3 separate regions of the Homo sapiens genome follow, and regions 1 and 3 are each linked to region 2. The links are contacts of gene promoters, found by promoter capture Hi-C in blood cells and fetal thymus (Javierre and others, 2016). All regions are on one chromosome and are shown on one strand. Each heading gives the region's core, a stretch centred on a gene start or on the middle of the fragment in contact. The rest is flanking DNA. Distances are from core to core; before and after follow the strand shown. Region 1 overlaps ERMAP (erythroblast membrane associated protein (Scianna blood group)). Region 2 holds the start of CDC20 (cell division cycle 20). Region 3 overlaps IPO13 (importin 13).

The links. Contacts are between HindIII fragments. The CHiCAGO score rates a contact against its expected background, and 5 or more counts as called.
Region 1: a contact is called between a fragment that was not itself captured here and the fragment with the promoter of CDC20 in region 2, in 2 of 17 cell types (neutrophils and erythroblasts). The highest score is 7.0, in neutrophils.
Region 3: a fragment that was not itself captured here is called in contact with the fragment with the promoter of CDC20 in region 2 in 1 of 17 cell types (naive B cells); the score reaches 5.0 in naive B cells.

The regions. Positions count from the first base shown.
Region 1 is chr1:42,822,767-42,825,466 of GRCh38, reverse strand. All of the region lies in intron 1 of ERMAP (erythroblast membrane associated protein (Scianna blood group)), which reads right to left. Among named protein-coding and RNA genes, the nearest start is that of SVBP, 6.7 kb to the right of the region's middle. The HindIII fragment of the contact is 2,034 bases long and covers 272-2,305 here.
Region 2 is chr1:43,357,501-43,360,262 of GRCh38, reverse strand. It overlaps CDC20 (cell division cycle 20), which reads right to left and starts at 1,282. Exons shown (of 11, transcript NM_001255.3): 1 at 1,257-1,282; 2 at 867-1,096; 3 at 625-773; 4 at 442-538; 5 at 166-294; 6 at 1-70. The coding sequence starts at 1,047. It overlaps CDC20-DT (CDC20 divergent transcript), which reads left to right and starts at 1,590. Exons shown (of 4, transcript NR_183650.1): 1 at 1,590-1,713; 2 at 2,155-2,221; 3 at 2,363-2,460. RefSeq lists silencers at 1,094-1,243, 1,434-1,543 and enhancers at 986-1,494, 1,834-1,893, 2,005-2,513. The HindIII fragment of the contact is 10,275 bases long and covers 1-1,812 here.
Region 3 is chr1:43,948,210-43,950,909 of GRCh38, reverse strand. It overlaps IPO13 (importin 13), which reads right to left. Exons shown (of 20, transcript NM_014652.4): 2 at 757-1,493. Among named protein-coding and RNA genes, the nearest start is that of IPO13, 2.6 kb to the right of the region's middle. The HindIII fragment of the contact is 2,008 bases long and covers 315-2,322 here.

The sequences.
Region 1 (2,700 bases), core at 39-2,538, 530 kb after region 2:
TCCCAAAAATGAGGGAACCACTGAGTATGACTGACCGGGTAGGAGGCACGTTTGCCCCTCCACTCCCTTTTCCTCCAATGCTGCCAATAGTAATTCCCTCTGATGCGTTTTGATCCTATCACATTCTTTCTGAAAACCTTCCCCCTTTACTTTTCAAATCAGAGTAAATTGGAAGATTGGTTTCAAAGACATCCACCAATTAACCACCTTCTTTAACTCACTATCTTTATCTCCAGCTACACCCTGACATGTGCCTTCTGATAAGCAAGCTTGCTGTTTTCCAACATGTGATAAACGCTTCCCGCCTGTCTTGCTTTCATAATATCCTTAGCTGTATGTTCATAATCTCCATAATTATATCATTAACAATACATTACACATTTTTATGTCCTTTGAACTTTATAAAGATGGAGCCCATTGTACATAATTCCCAATTATTCCCTTTTTTTATTCAACATTAGCTTCTGAGTCTAGCAGACATCTGTGGTGGCCCACACCATGTCCCCTCAGCCCACCCAATTTTGGTGTAGCTGAGACTTGCAGGCAAGCTGCTAGCATGTCACCTCATAGGCCATGGCATTTTTCTGCTTGCCTGTCTTGGGGCTTTCTACAAAGCCTTGGAAGGCTGTGCAGCCCAGAAGTTCACCAAAGCTAACACCTCGGAGACATAAACAACAGTGAGAGGAGTCAAGACAAAATGCTCCAGGCTTGCACCTTCAGCTCTGAGCTGTATTCGACATGATTCCTCTGAGTGTTCCCAATGGGAGTGAGCACGGTGGTTCATAGTGGTAAGTAGCTCCGTACTGCACCTTTTATTGACTTTTCTTCCTTTTTTGCTCATTCCCATTTCTGCTTCCTGGGATTACCTCCTAAATACACTCTTGAACTGAAGTACTTGTCTCACACCTCACACTCTGTTCTGGGGGTGTACAAATTAAGACACTGAAATTAATCCAGGTTGTTTCACAGAGCACTAGGATATTCATTCACTGCTATATAGTAGACCATTATATAAATCTACCAACAGTTTCTCTCGTCCCTTAATGATAGAAATGTGGGTTGTTTCTGGGCTTTAGCTTTTATAAATAATACTGTCCTGAACATTCTTTTTTTTTTTTTGAGACAGAGTCTCGCTCCGTCGCCCAGGCTGGAGTGCAGTGGTACGATCTCGGCTCACTGCAAGCTCCGCCTCCTGGGCTCATGCCATTCTCCTGCCTCAGCCTCCGGAGTAGCTGGGACTACAGACGCCCGCCACCACGCCCAGCTATTTTTTTTTTTGTATTTTTAGTAGAGACGGGGTTTCACCGTGTTAGCCAGGATGGTCTTGATCTCCTGACCTTGTGATCCGCCCGCCTCGGCCTCCCAAAGTGCTGGGATTACAGGCGTGAGCCACCGCGCCCGGCCTCGTGCCCTGAACATTCTTGATAGGTATTTCCTGCTCACATGTGCAAGAATTTCTCTAGAGCACCAGTTCTTAATGTGTGGTCCACAAACACTTGAAGTCCCTGAGGCCCTATCATCCAGGTTAAAACTACATTCATCATAATAAAGACGTTATTTGCCTTTTTCACGGTATTGACATTTTCAAGGACACTGCAAAAGCAATAGTGGGTAAAACAGCTAGCACAAATCAGGAAGTGGCACCAAACTGTAGTAGAAGTTACAAATTTTATTAAATTTCAACTCTTAGATACACATCTTTTTAATAGTTTGTGTGACAAAATGGGAAGGATGCATAAACAGTTACGCTGCATATCAAAGTATGATGACTTTATCGAGGAAAAAACCTTAAGTGATTGAGTTGTGAGCTGAAGTAATCGCTTGACTCATGGAGCACCATTCTTACCTGAAAGTACAGCTGAAAGACAAAGTATAATTATTCAGACTTGGGTATTTGGCAGGCATTTTCTCCAAAATGAATAAAGTGCACCTGTCACTTCAGGAAAAGCAACTGACAGTGTTTGTTGTCAATGAGAACATTCAATCTTTTGAGCAAAAATTAGAATTTTGGAAAATTTTTATCTGCTGCTTGATACCCTCACAATAGCAAAAGACTTTTCTGATGAGATTGGCATTGATATTAATAAATGTGATTTTTTGATGTTGTATAATGAAATGTGTCAACATTTAGAAGATCTGTAAAACTCAGTGACTCAGCAATTTCCAAATGACCAATGGGTGTGTTGACAAAACCCTGCATGGGTAAAACATTCATTTAAAATGCAAGAAAAAACTGTGAGTGTTGCTGTAATAGAGTATAAAAAGGTCATTGCTATGGTTTCAGATTTCATGTCACAACTAAGCTTTAAAAAACTACCACTTGCTGAGTTTTGGTGTCTTATCAAAGAATATCCACGATTATCTGAAAAAGCTACTGAAATGCTCCTTTTCCAATTGCATACACTTCAACCACAAAACATACTGCAGCAGATTGAAAGATATAGCTGGCTTGAGAATACAGCTGTCTTCTATTAAGCCAGACATCTAAAATATTTATAGCCATTAAAAAGAATAAAATCCCATCATTCAAAGTGACATGGATGGAACTAGAAAACATTACGTTATATGAAATAAGTCAGGCACAGAAAGTTAAACACCACATGTTCTCACTCATAGTTAGATGTTAAAAAAAAAGAAAAAGTTAATCTCATAGAAGTGAAAAGCAGAACAGAGGTTACTAGAGGCTGGAGAGGGAAGGGG
Region 2 (2,762 bases), core at 33-2,532:
CACAGGTACACACTGTTGTCCAGTGCCACGGCCAGTACATTCCCAGAACTCCAATCCACAAGGTTCAGGTCTGTCAGAGGTGGAGAGAAGAGCATGAGCTTCCTTGTTTGTGTGGTCCCAGGCCCTCTTTCTCCATGCATGAGGCGAGGATAAGGATGCACTTACAATAGTCATTTCGGATTTCAGGCGCATCCAGGATACGGTCTGGCAGGGAAGGAATGTAACGGCAGGTCTTCCGGCTGGAGCCAGGAGTGGCCTTTTGGCTGTAGAGTACTTTCAGTCTGTTCTGATAACCTGTGGCAACGGAGTGAGTCTAGACGCTGGGAAAATCAACACCTCCCTTGCCCTCAATCTTAGATAGGAAGAGGAGACAGATATCTGTGCTCAGCCCTGGAGATGAACTGACACCTCCCTCCAGGAACCAGGAACTTCGGGTCTTACCCTCTGGCGCATTTTGTGGTTTTCCACTGAGCCGAAGGATCTTGGCTTCCTCTACATCAAAACCGTTCAGGTTCAAAGCCCAGGCTTTCTGATGTTCCTGGCATAAAGGGTAGTGAAGGAGCAAGATGGTATTATCCAAAGAACAGTCAGGTCCCGTGCCTTAAGCCCCTCTGGGACACATACCTTCTTGGTGGGCGTCTGGCTGTTTTCAGGCTGGTTCTCCTTGCTCAGGAGGAAGCTGGCCACCTCCATCTGGGCAGCACTGCGATGGGGGATATAGCGGTCACCGCCAGGTTTGCTAGGAGTGGTCTGAACCTTGGAACTGGATTTGCCTGGGGCGGAGAAAGAGAAGACAGTCTGACCAGGCTCCCCAGGGAGAAAGTATGAAGGCTGCTCTCACTCAGTTCCTTTGGCACCTCACTGACCAGGAGTTCGGCCCGGAGTCCTGCCGGCGCTGTGGGATCGGTTGGCGGCCCGCATGGGTGAGGGGGCCGGGCCTGCGGCTTCCTTGGCTTTGCGCTGCCAGCGCGCAGGGGGTGCATTGGGGATGGGTGCATCCAGCTGAAGCAGCGAGTGCAGGTCACTCTCGAACGCGAACTGTGCCATGGGAGCGCCCGCAGGGGGAGGGGTCCTTGCAGTTGGTGCCTACGGAGCCCTGGAGGAAAGGAGGCGACGGTGCTCAGGGGACAGAAAGGGACCCCTTCGCTCCTGGCCGGCCACAAAATCAGGGCCACCCTCGGCTGCAGCCCCTTCCGGCCTAGCACCCCCTCCCCCTGGCCACGGCCCCACCTCGGCTCAGCCCCACCACCTCTCACCGTGCCCTCCGGAGCAGTTCCGACCGGCTTTAACACGCCTGGCTTACGCCTCTTAAACTCTCCGCTCCGAGCGCCTATTGGCTCCTTCAAAATCCAACCGTCGCAACCGTTGCCCTAGCCCATTGGCCTCTCCGGCGAAGGGGGCGGGCCTTCCGGGGAAAGTCTCAGCTATCACGAGAGTCTAGCGGCGGAGCGCGATTTGAAGGGTACGAGAGGGGCTGGGAGCCGGCGCCAGAGGACTAGTACTGGAAAGCCGGCCGGGACAGGGCGGGGCAGGGCGGGGCCGGGTGGGGCCTGCGCTGCCTCAGCGTCCTGGAGTCGTCTCGGTTCGCCCTTTTGCGTGCCTTCCACCGCCGCGAGCTCGGAATGTCTGGCCCCGGGTGCTTCAGGGTCCGAGAACCTGCAGAAGTTCACACTTAAATCCTACACGAGAGTCGTATTTATGATGCAGAACTCGGTGCAGAACCCGATGGAGTGCCCAAGGCGCTTGAGCCGTTCCTAGAAGGGGAAGGAGAGCCGCGGGCGGCAGCGGGGCAGGGGACGGAATTGGGAAGCTTGGGAGCAGGAAGAAGGCCAGAGCTACTTAGGGTACATTCCACTTTTGCTTGGCGCCGGGTAGGAACCCTGCTAGAAAGGAAGTAACGTGTGTTTGTCTCGTTTGCTGTTGTTTTACAAACAGGGAAAATGAGGTTGAAAAGGGTGAATGAATTCCTTAAGGTCAAGAAAAAGGATCGGTATTCAAACCTGCCTATCTGGAAGATAAGCTTAGACTGCCCTACAGGAGGCACTGTGGCTTATCCCCTTGGGGCTTTAAAGATGTGAGGACCTTAGAGATCCATTAGTCTAACCTGTGCGTGGTGCAGCCTCCCCACCCCGACAACAAATCCATATTTTACAGATGGAGAAACGGAGGCCCAGGGAAGGGATGTGCCCGAGGTCATACAAAGAAGTTTGTGGGAATCCAGGTCTGACTCGCACTCAATCTAGTGCTCTAATAATGACTTGAGTGAATTGTATGAATGTGCTCAGAGGTGGAGCAGCAATCATAAAAGTAATAATGGTACCATTTATGGACCATCTAACTACTGTGTTAAAACAATTTACAGGCCATGCGCGGTGGCTCACGCTTGTAATCCCAGCACTTTGGGAGGCCGAGGCGGGCAGATCACGAAGTCAGAAGATCGAGACCATCCTGGCTAACACGGTGAAACCCCGTCTTTACTAAAAATACAAAAAATTAGCCGGGCTTGGTGGCGGGCGCCTGTAGTTCCAGCTACTCGAGAGGCTGAGGCAGGAGAATGGCGTGAACCCGGGAGGCGGAGCTTGCAGTGAGCCGAGATCGAGCCACTGCACTCCAGCCTGGGCAACAGAGCGATACTCTGTCTGAAAAAAAAAAAAAAAGTTTACATACATTATCGAGTTCAATCCTTAATCCCATAAGGCAGATAGATACCCCATCTTCCCTTTACAGAAAAAAGAAACTGGGTCAGAAAGATTAGAAACTTG
Region 3 (2,700 bases), core at 69-2,568, 590 kb before region 2:
GGGCTAAGAAGGAAAAATACTGGGAGCTCTGAGGTAATATAAGAGAGAAGATCAAACTTAGCCTTAAGAATCCATGGAGGACTTCCCTATGGAAATGAAGTTTAAGCTGAGGCAAGGTGTCAAGTATATGTAATGAGCCAGAGGCTGAAAGGAACATGGGACATTCAAGGAATTAAAGAAACTGTGTGAGCGTGTAGAGAGCAAGGAGAGTAGCATGAGATGAGGCCAGTGATGCCATACTGTGCAGCACCATTATGAGTCACATTAAGGATTCTGAGCTTTAACCTAAGAGCATTGAGAAGCCACTGAAAGCTTCTGATCAGAAAGATTAGATCCCCATTTTCAAAAGATCACTGTGGCTGCTGGGACAATGAAGGGTACAAGAGTGAGGACAAGCTCTACAGTAATCTGGGGAGAGAGATGATGACAGCTTGGACTAAGGTGGTAGCAATGGAAATGGAAAAAAATAGATTTGCAATATGGTCAGGAGGGGAACAGCCAGGACTTGGTGACTAGTTGAGAGAAGGAAAAGAGAGTCAAATATTTTAATTGAATAACTGATAATTAGTTGTTTAATGTCTGCCTCCCTGTCTGAACCATGAGGACAGGGACCATGTCTTCTTTGGTTCCTTGCTGTATCTCCAGCATAGGACCAGGTATCAGTACACATTCAATTAATGTTTATTGAACAGATGGATGGATGGATGTGTGGCTGGCCAAAGAGGTTGTCTTCTGGGTGAGTGGGTACTAGCTCACCTCTGGGCATCAGGCTGTGAGATGGCATTCACAATGGCCTCCACACTGCTGTCGAAGAGCTCCGAGTCCTGCAGAGCAGCAAAGGCAGCCTGAATGAGCGCCTCACAGTCCTGCAGCGGCACCTCCAGCTGCACCCAGCTGGAGAAACACTTGAGCACCTTCTGACGCACACAGCTGGGTGAGCTGGGCTGCTGTAGCAGCTGCTCCAGCAGCGGGAAGACAGCCCCACATTCCACCGCCAGGCTGGTCCGCACCAGGCCTTTGCGGTACTGGGGTAGGCGACTGGTCTGGAACTCCTCAGGCAGCACTGTCAGCAGCTCTAACAGGGCTAGGCAGCGGCCCTGCCCATCCACTGGTGAGTCCTCAGCCTGGAAGAGTCGTACCATATCTGCCACAGCACATGGCCAAGCGTCAGGCATCATGCTGAGAGCCAGTGAGGCCAGTGCCACGCACAGCCGAGTCAGTACAATCTTGGAGCCACTGGCAAAGCGGGTGATCTGGGTGAAGAGCTGTGCCTTTAGGCTTTCATACTGGTCAGTGGGGATGTCACTCCAGTAGCGAGAGATCTTGATGTGAAGAGCACTGGCCCCAAAGTACTGGATCTCTGGTACCTTGTCGGGCTGCAGTAGCTGCCAGCTGAAGTGCCAGGCCTGTGGGGAGACCTGGGCCTGCATCAGCCACTTCTGAGCCAGGTTCTTATTCTCAATGTTGGGATCATAGTAGAGCTGGTGCAGCGCCTGCAGGACAGCACAGGACTGAGCAGGTGCTGGCCACTCTGGATCCTGCCAGAGCCCAGAACAGAGGCGTGACTTGGTCCTGCAAGGCTGCTCCCTCTCCCTGACTGGGGGGCTGAGCAGGGAGAGCTCAGCGCTCTGCAGTGTTTCCTGGGCCTGGGGTCCTGCTGATATCTTGAGAGCCTGAACCTTGCCCATGCTCTACCATATCCTCTTCTCCTTACAGCAAAACATTATGGGTTCAGAGAGGGAATCTCCACAGGAAAGCAAAAAAGAGGAGGCTGATCTCCCCAAAGGGGAGGCACTTGAGGGCAAGGCCCAGGTGGAAGGAACAGCTTCACAGGGATGAAGCTAAGTCTGAGAAGGGCATGGAACAGCTTGAGGGGACTTGACCCTCCCAGGCACAGCTGCTCCCATCAACTCCAACAGCTCCTTTCAGCTCCCCCAGGATCATCCCTAGGTCAGTCCAGATGCTGGCACCAAAGCCAGTGTGAAATCAGAGCAGGACTAAGACTTTTGCCAGGCAGCCCTGGGGCAGACATGCTGGAGGAGAGGGTGAGAACACTCCTCAGAGGGCACATGTCCAACCAATTGATCCAGAGAAGCCTTGGCCATAGCTGCAGCCCTGGCAAACACCTAGCTTAGTGCTCTCCACTAGCAGAATCCCCGGGGTCTCAATTCCAACGGGACTTTATGAAGTAAGAAAACAGTGAGATTTATCTCCCAATAGCACATGGAACAGTGCGCCACCATGCCAACACTGCCCTGCTCCAAGGGGCGGAAGAGTATGGCCAGGACCCTGACCCCTAAGCAGGCTCCATCCAAGTAAGCTTAGCTCTATTTGTACCCCTGACAGCCAGTTATGGCCATTGGCCCTTGTTTGGCCCCTCAGGGACGCCAAAGCAGGCAGAAGAGATGCATCCTCATTGTTTGTTATGGCAAACGGGGGTTAAGGATAACAAGTGAACATCATTCCCTGCTTTCAAGTAAGGGAGCCCCATCTCCCCATTCATCCCAGGGTGCATGCATTCCTGCATTTCAAGTTGTAGGGAGCAGATACAGAAAAGAACCAAAGAGGCAGTTCAGAAAGATGGGCTGGGCAGTCGGGGAGCCTGGGAGGGCCATGGCAGGGAGCTATGTGGGCAGGCGAGTAGGGAGGAGCCCTGTAAGGCTCCCAGCAGGGCCAGGACCCTTGGACTCAGCACAAAAC